Linked DNA regions of Homo sapiens: region 2 is linked to region 1. The links are contacts of gene promoters, found by promoter capture Hi-C in blood cells and fetal thymus (Javierre and others, 2016). All regions are on one chromosome and are shown on one strand. The core of a region is centred on a gene start or on the middle of the fragment in contact, and the rest is flanking DNA. Distances in the headings are between cores, read along the strand shown. Region 1 holds the start of TTC7B (tetratricopeptide repeat domain 7B). Region 2 overlaps RPS6KA5 (ribosomal protein S6 kinase A5).

Region 1 (3,827 bases), core at 930-3,429:
GAATAGGAAGGGCCCAGGCCACCAAAAACCCATCTACCCTCTCATTCCAGGGACCATCATAGCTTGAGTCCCCCTTCATCTGCCTGTCATTCTCAATCACATTAACTCATCTGTTTTGTTTCAATCACTTCTCACTATCTGAAGCTGTGCTGTTTATTTATTTCCATATTTGCTTATCACCTGCCTCCTGAGAGCAGGGTGAGGGCATAAGGGCAGGGGCTTGGTCAGTGCTGTTCACCACTGTTCTGTGACTGGCACAGGTGGGCACGCAAATATTGGGTGAATGAATAAGCAAAGACAGCAGGAAACAAGTGGATTCAGAAGAAAAAAGACCAGGAGGCTCACAAATAAACCCATTTAATCCTAAAATCAACCTGCACAGAAGGTGTCATTATGCCTACACCGCTGGGAAGCCACAAAGTAGACCCAGGACTGTGCAACTCCGAGAGGAAAAGAGAAAATGCTGCAGGTAAGCGGAGAAGCAGGTGAGCCCGACACGGAGGGCAAAGGCAAGCTGCCTCTGGGGCCCAGGGCACTGAACACCATCTCCTCAAAGGCTGACATAACTGAGAAGGGTCCACATTTTCCACCAAGTGGAGCCCGTGTAGGGTCGGTGCTATCTCCATGCCCCTGACACACCATGGCACCTGCGTTCACCCAGAAGGTACCTGCCCACAGCATGCATCCATCATTGAGAGTGCGCAAAACCAAGTTCTAATTTCCAGGCACTAATACCATAGGACACAAACATAAACCACCCTCCAGGAGGACACCTGACATCCCTCTCCTTTCTGGGTAGTCTGAAGTGAGAAGGTTGAAAATAGTGCAGATGTCCTTTCTTAGAGCAGCCCCGCCATCCATTCATTCACTCTTTCATTCATTTGTTCAGCCAACATGTGCTCACTGGGCCTGGGGAAGCCCAGGATGAAATGAGACAAACCCTCTGCCCTCTGGCCACGGTGTGCTGGTGCCTGCGCTTTAGGCGGGTACTAAAAGACAAGCAAATATTAAAGATACTCGCTTCCAAAACAAATAAGGCCACGTGGAGCTGTGCACTGGAATGGGATTCTGGATGCAATTTTATTTGATTGGGTACAAGAACCAATCCAGTTAAAGGGGTCATGAACCAACTCCAGGCACCAGGCTCCTACTCAGAGGCTGCCTCAGACCCCCTTCTGGCCCAGGCACCAACCCCTCACCCACCCAACTCCATCTCCCGACATTCTTCAACCACATTCCCATCTCGCTCCACAATATTCTCCCTCCAGGTCCCCCTGACTCTATTTCTCCTCTATTCCCAACCCTGACCTCTCTAGGTCGGCAGCCTTGATGCTACTTCTCCGAACGCCAGGACGCACATCCCAGCCTGCTTTCTACCACCACCCCACACACCTCGAGTCTGCGCTTCCACCCAGAACCCCTTAAACACCATATGTTTACAAACCAGATTCCCCAGGGGTCTATGTACAACACCCCATTCTCAAGACCCCATAAACACATCCTGATTCCCTGAGCACACCATACACACACTGTGGACTTCACCCATGTCCTGAGGGACCCCCTCACCCCATCACCTCCAACTTCTTGGAAGCCCCAGGCCGGCCCCTGACCTCCTGTGGTCCCAGTGGAGCAGCGGACTCGCTGAGACCCCCGGACACCCCAGACTCCGCAGAAGCCCGCCCTGCACGCTTGAACCCCAGGCGCCGGGACAGCCCCTGGCGCCCCCCCGGGCCCCCACACCGCGTGACTCCGGGGCACCCGGGCTCCCCCAGGCCCCGGTCCCGCGCACATCCCCTGGGCCGCAGCTCCCTCGCGGCCCGGCCGCGCCCCTGCCCGCGCCCCGCGCCCGGCCGCGCCTCGGGGGCCCGTTCCCGCGGAGGCCGCGGCGCCCCCCGCAGCCCAGGCCGGCGCGCCCGGAGCGTACCGTTGGCGATGAGCTTGGCCGACAGCTGCTTGACGAGCTCAGGGATCCGCTCCCACTGGCACTCGGAGCGGCAGCGCTCGATCTCCGTCTCCAGCCGCGAGCCTGCCTTCTTGGTCGCCATCGCGGCCTGGCCGGGCCCGGCCGCCCGCCCCGCAGGCCCCACCGCCGCCGCCGCGGCGCCCCCTCGCCGCCTCCCGCCGCCGCCGCGGGCTCGGGCTCCGGCTCCCGGCTCCGCGGCGTAACGGGAGCGCCGGCTGGGGAAGGGGCGGGGAGGCGGGCGGCGGCGGCGGGCGCGGCGGGGCCCCGGGCGCCGCGAGGAGCGGCCCCTGCCGGCCAGGGCCGGAGCCGCAGCACTGACCGGGGCCGGAGCCAGGGCTGGGGCAGGGGCGGGGGCTAGGGCGGGAGACAGGGGCCCGAGGGAGGAAAGGCGGGGTGGGCATGGAGGACAGGGAGAGGGACTGGGGGTGTCTGGGGCGGGGTGAAGACCGAGGGGAAGTGGGGATGGGGGTGGGGGAGCGGGGTAGGAGAGAGATCTGACCAAGGGCGGGTGAGGGGTCTGGTGGGGTAGGGGTCTGGGCAGGATGAAGGGGAGGGAGAGGATCGGGAGGGAGCTAGCGACAGCCTGGGAGCGGGTTGGATCCCCAGGAGTAGGGCCAAGAAAGGGCAGTGACCCTGGGGAAGGTCACCGCCCGGTGGGACCAGTGAGCCAGGTGTGAGGGGTGGGGGGAGGCCTGCCCGAGTTTGTCCTGCCATCTCAGGTGGCCAGCGGTTCCCTGGGGCCCGGTTGGCCTGTGCCCCTTAGCAGATGCCCCTCTGCCCCGCAGCCTTAGCCCCTACCCAGCCAGAGGTGGACGGAGACTCCTCCATCCCAGGCAAGGCACAGCACCTGCCAGGGGTGCCCTAGATGGCTGAGCGGAGCCAGGCAGGGGCTGCCACTCTCACACGCCAGCTCTCGGACCCCCTGAGGGGAAGGCACAGTCACTGGTGGGGCCTCCTGTCTTGGCCACCTAGACTGAGACCTAGGGAGGTGTCCCTCTGTGTTCTCTCAGTGAATCAACTGTCTAGTGATCACCTACTATGTGCTGGGCGCTGCTTTAGGTGCCAGAGATAGAATTGTGAGCTAAAAAAACAAAATTCCTGGCTTGAGAGAGCTTACATTCCAGTTTGGGGGAAAAATAAGCAAAATAAAATAGTAAACTAGACTGTAAAAATGGCTATTTGAAGAAACAGGGAAGGGTTCAGTGAGGAACATAAAGAGTTGGGACAGGCGGGTGGCTCATGCCTGTAATCCCAGCTACTCAGGAGGCTGAGGCAGGATGATTGCTTGAGCCCAGAAGGTGGAGGCTGCAGTGAGCAGTGAACGCACTTCAGCCTGAGCAAGTGTTGCCATTTAAAATGGAGCAGTCAGGGATGGCCTCACGGAGGTGGCATTAGACTTGAAGAAACTAAGGGGGAGCCATGAGGATATCTCTGGGGGAGGAGTATCCCAGGCAGAGAACACCACAAGTGCGAAGGCTCTGGGGTTAGAGCACACTGGGTGGGATGGAGAAATGGCAGAGGCCAGAGGGGCTGGGTGGAGCGAAGGAGAGGGGCCGAGGCAGGAGATGAACTCTGAGAGGTTGGGGGGAGTTCTGTGTAGTGCCTGGTGGGCCATTATAAGACCTTGGCTTTTGGCTGGGCACGGTGGCTCACGCCTGTAATCCCAGCACTTTGGGAGGCCGAGGTGGGCGGATCACGAGGTCAGAAGATCGAGACCGTCCTAGCTAACATGGTGAAACCCGTCTCTACTAAAAATATTTTTAAAAATTAGCCGGGCGTGGTGGCAGGCGCCTGTAGTCCCAGCTGCTGGGGAGGCTGAGGCAGGAGAATGGTGTGAACCCGGGAGGCGGAGTTTGCAGTGAGC
Region 2 (3,827 bases), core at 863-3,362, 85 kb after region 1:
CCTGTAAGTGAATTAGTACACATGGGAAAAAAAAAAAAAAAAAGTAGGATACCTGATCATGAAAAACTTCATGCAACTTCACAATATTGGGGTGTCCTTCACAGAGTTTCAGAGCTGTTATTTCCTTTTGAGTATTGGCTTCCATCCTGCAAGATGAGACACTTAGCATCCACATGTCTCTTCAAGAAAGTTTTTATATCAGTACTGCCCCAAGACTAATTTTGTCTTATTTACAGTGCATTCAGAATATACATGTTACAGTATACTGTAATGAGGTTTCCATGAAAGTAATGAATTATACCACACACTAGAAAAAGTAATATTCTGGAGAAAATTATTATTTCTGAGTCAGAAAAGTACAAATCATATGAGGAAATGAATGCTCTACTTTCCTGACAATTTAGAGTAATAAGAATATGCAATCTTAATAATAATCATCAGTTACCAAAACAACTAGATGGCTCTCAAAGCTATCAGTAGCTTGCTAAATAATTTTAGAGAAAAATATTTCAAATACACAACTAGTAGAAATGGCAATGGCTGCCAAAATCACTATGTGAGCCTGATTAAATATGTCACTGTCACAAAGACGTTTTCTCTAGATAAACTCAAAAGCAAATAAGACTATGATTTATGTCTAAAATGGATTACTTTATCAGAAAATATCAATTAGAGCTAAAAGTATAATGGACCAACTGATGAGCCAAGTGGTTAAACCTTTGGGTAAGAAAGTCTTACAATATAATACTGGTTTCAATTAAAATAAATATCTTTTAATTTACAGAATTCATGAATACCTAAGAAAGAATATTATATTAAAAATGGTCATACCTTTTGCTGATTATTTTGACTGCAAAAGCTTGGTTACTTTTTTTATGCACACACTTTCGACAAATTGAAAAACTACCTTCTCCCAGGGGTTTGTCCTTCAAATCTAGGTCATAGTGTTGATAGAATGGAGAGTCCTGTCAAGAAATCAACATCATTTAACTTCAGAAAATGTCAGTAATACACAAAGGATCAATAAAATTGTAGAGTAAAATAAAATTATTAATATTAATAAACAGGAATAGAATACATTTATAATCTAAAATTCATCTTTATAGGTAACTTCTATTTTCATCTAAATAATTATTTAAGATACATAATTCTCTATAATTGTAAAAAGAAGTTCATTCAACTTGACGTTAATTCTCTAGGGAAAATATTGCTATATCCCACTTTTAAAATTGCACTTTAGTTGAATTACTAGACTTAAGAACATTAATTAGAGTTGGTATTTAAACACTCACAAAACCTACAAATATGTCATATAAGTTACCACATCTATATACCTTCATCATTGCACTCCTGGCAACATTTGTCACTCCAGGACGTTCAACTCCCATGTGAAACTGAAGAGGGTCTATGACAGCTGCATTACGCTTGAATAGGATGGAAGGAGCAACAAAGGAATAGCCCTAAAAACAAGACAAAGAAAGATAAAGAAAAACAACTTGCAGTTTTCCAGTTTAACACAGATTAGATTGTAATGACTTTTTTTCCTTAGAAAAACACTCAAATATTTGTTGAGATGAGTCTAATTTTATTTTATTTGCAATCTAAAATGCAAGGTTATTTCAAATCATTTGAAAAATGCTGTTCAGAAGGATATAATGCCATCTTCTGGTAGAACTAAACCAATTCAAAAATAAAGGTAGAAAAAGACTTCTTCCCTATTCCACCCCCAAAATCAGACTCATAGATGAAATTCTCCTGGTTTGCTGATGAAATTTGTTTACAAACATAACTAACTTCTCAAAAAAGGATACAGTCAAGGTATTAAACAAAGTGGTCTTTTTTTTTTGAGATTGAGTCTGGCTCTGTTGCCCAGGCTGGAGTGCAGTGGTGCGATCTTGGCTCACTGCAACTTCTGCCTCCTGCGTTCAAGCCATTCTCCTGCCTCAGCCTCCCAAGTAGCTGGGATTATAGGCACATGCCACCATGCCTGACGGGGTTTCACCATGTCTCGAACTGGTCTCAAACCCCTGACCTCAAGTGATCAACCCACCTCGGCCTCCAAAAGTGCTGGGATTAAAGGCCTGAGCCACCAGACCCAGCCACAAAGTGGTCTTTAAATGCTATTGTTTTTCAAACTGGAAAAATGGCAAGTCTCACTAAAGTTAGTTTCTAATTTAGCAATTATTTGATTCTTATTAATATCTTCAGAATAATTAAATTTAAAATTGAGTTTTGGAAAGGAACAAAGTCTAATGGCAGAATGATGCTCTGAGCTAAGTGGTACAAAGACGGATGATTAATCCGTTCAAGCTAGAACATTCACTAATCAACAAACATTTAAAAAAATGTTCAATAAGTGCCCAGTCACATACTAGACAGTGATAAGCAAAGAAGAAAAGACACCGTCTGGATGGCCAGATTAAGCCATACTAAAGGTATACTTATAGAAGTCAAAGAAGCAAAGCTCTGATGCCATTTAATAGTTAGAATATTTTATCTTGTGTGACAAATGCCCTTTTCTAAATATAAAATCTAAATCTTTTTTTAACAGCAGTTAAGATTAATTACTGAAGGTAAAGAATAAGGTAACATTGTGAACTAAAGAATGTTTTTATATGGGGGTTGAGGGGCACGGTGGCTCATGCCTAGAATCCCAGCACTTTGGGAGGCCAAGGCAGGAGGATCGCTTGAGGCCAGAGTTCAAGACCAGCTTAGGCAACAAAGTAAGACCCTGTTTCTACAATTTTTTTTTAATTAGGTGGGTGTGGTGGCATGCACCTGTGGTCCCAGCTATTCAGGAGGCTGAGGCAAGAGGATCCCCTGAGCCAAGCAGTTAAAAAGGCTGCAGTGAGCTATGATCATGCCACTGCACTCCAGCCTGGGTGACAGAGTGAGACCTTGTTTCTTAAAAAAAAAAAATTTTTTTGGCTGGACGTGGTGGCTCATGCCTGTAATGCCAGCACTTTGGGAGGCCAAGGCAGGAGGATCACTTGAGGCCAGGAGTTCAAGACCAGCTTAGGCAACATAGCAAGATCCTATCTCTGCAAAAAATAGAAAAATTAGCTGGGTGTGCTGGTTTGCACCTGTGGTCTCAGCTATCCCAGAGGCTAAGGTGAGAGGATCACTTGAGCCCAGGAGTCTGAGGCTGCAGTGAGCTAGGACAGCACTGCTACACTCCAGTCTGGGCATCAGAGTGAGACCCTGTCTATATAAATAAAAATTTTTAAATATGAATAGAGGTAAAATAAAAGATTATTGTATTTTCTATAAAAGAATCTGAACAAAAATAAAATTTCAGGTATAAAATTAAAACTTCCCTTATATCAAAAATAAATGCATAAACAATATCTGCTATTGAGCAAACTATAAGCTTCGGTTAACAATGTGCAATATTTCTGCATTTAATAATTTAGAGGATATTAGAGAATCCCATTTTTATGATGCCAACAAAACTACTTCAATATGGGAAATTTAATCTTTTCTTTCAAAGGACATATGGCCAATGTGCATGTGCACAGGATGGGAAATTACCTGAAACAGCTTCTCAGAACTCTGGGGCAGGGCTGCGGGAGAATAAGTGGGATCCATTTCTGTGAACTCTTCTGCAAAGTTACTCACATCTAATTCATCTCGAATGACTGGCTTAAATGGTGCAGGCACTTTTTTGGCGGCTAAATCATCCCAATTTATTTTCTAAAACAAAGAAAGTTGGTACAAAGTAGAAATCAATAGTCAAAATGTACTTTCTAAGAATAACAAAGATAAATTAGGATTTTGACTGGTAGGGAGAGAGGATAAAAATAAGAGAACATATTTCAAATCAATAA

What was found. The method cuts DNA at HindIII sites, captures the fragments that hold promoters and counts their contacts. A CHiCAGO score of 5 or more calls a contact.
Region 2: a contact is called between a fragment that was not itself captured here and the fragment with the promoter of TTC7B in region 1, in 1 of 17 cell types (megakaryocytes). The highest score is 6.1, in megakaryocytes.

The regions. Positions count from the first base shown.
Region 1 is chr14:90,814,251-90,818,077 of GRCh38, forward strand. It overlaps TTC7B (tetratricopeptide repeat domain 7B), which reads right to left and starts at 2,180. Exons shown (of 20, transcript NM_001010854.2): 1 at 1,925-2,180. The coding sequence starts at 2,045. RefSeq lists a silencer at 2,174-2,353. The HindIII fragment of the contact is 10,969 bases long and covers 1-3,827 here.
Region 2 is chr14:90,899,277-90,903,103 of GRCh38, forward strand. It overlaps RPS6KA5 (ribosomal protein S6 kinase A5), which reads right to left. Exons shown (of 17, transcript NM_004755.4): 9 at 3,532-3,693; 10 at 1,335-1,460; 11 at 832-965; 12 at 53-146. Among named protein-coding and RNA genes, the nearest start is that of LINC02321, 73 kb to the left of the region's middle. The HindIII fragment of the contact is 2,511 bases long and covers 858-3,368 here.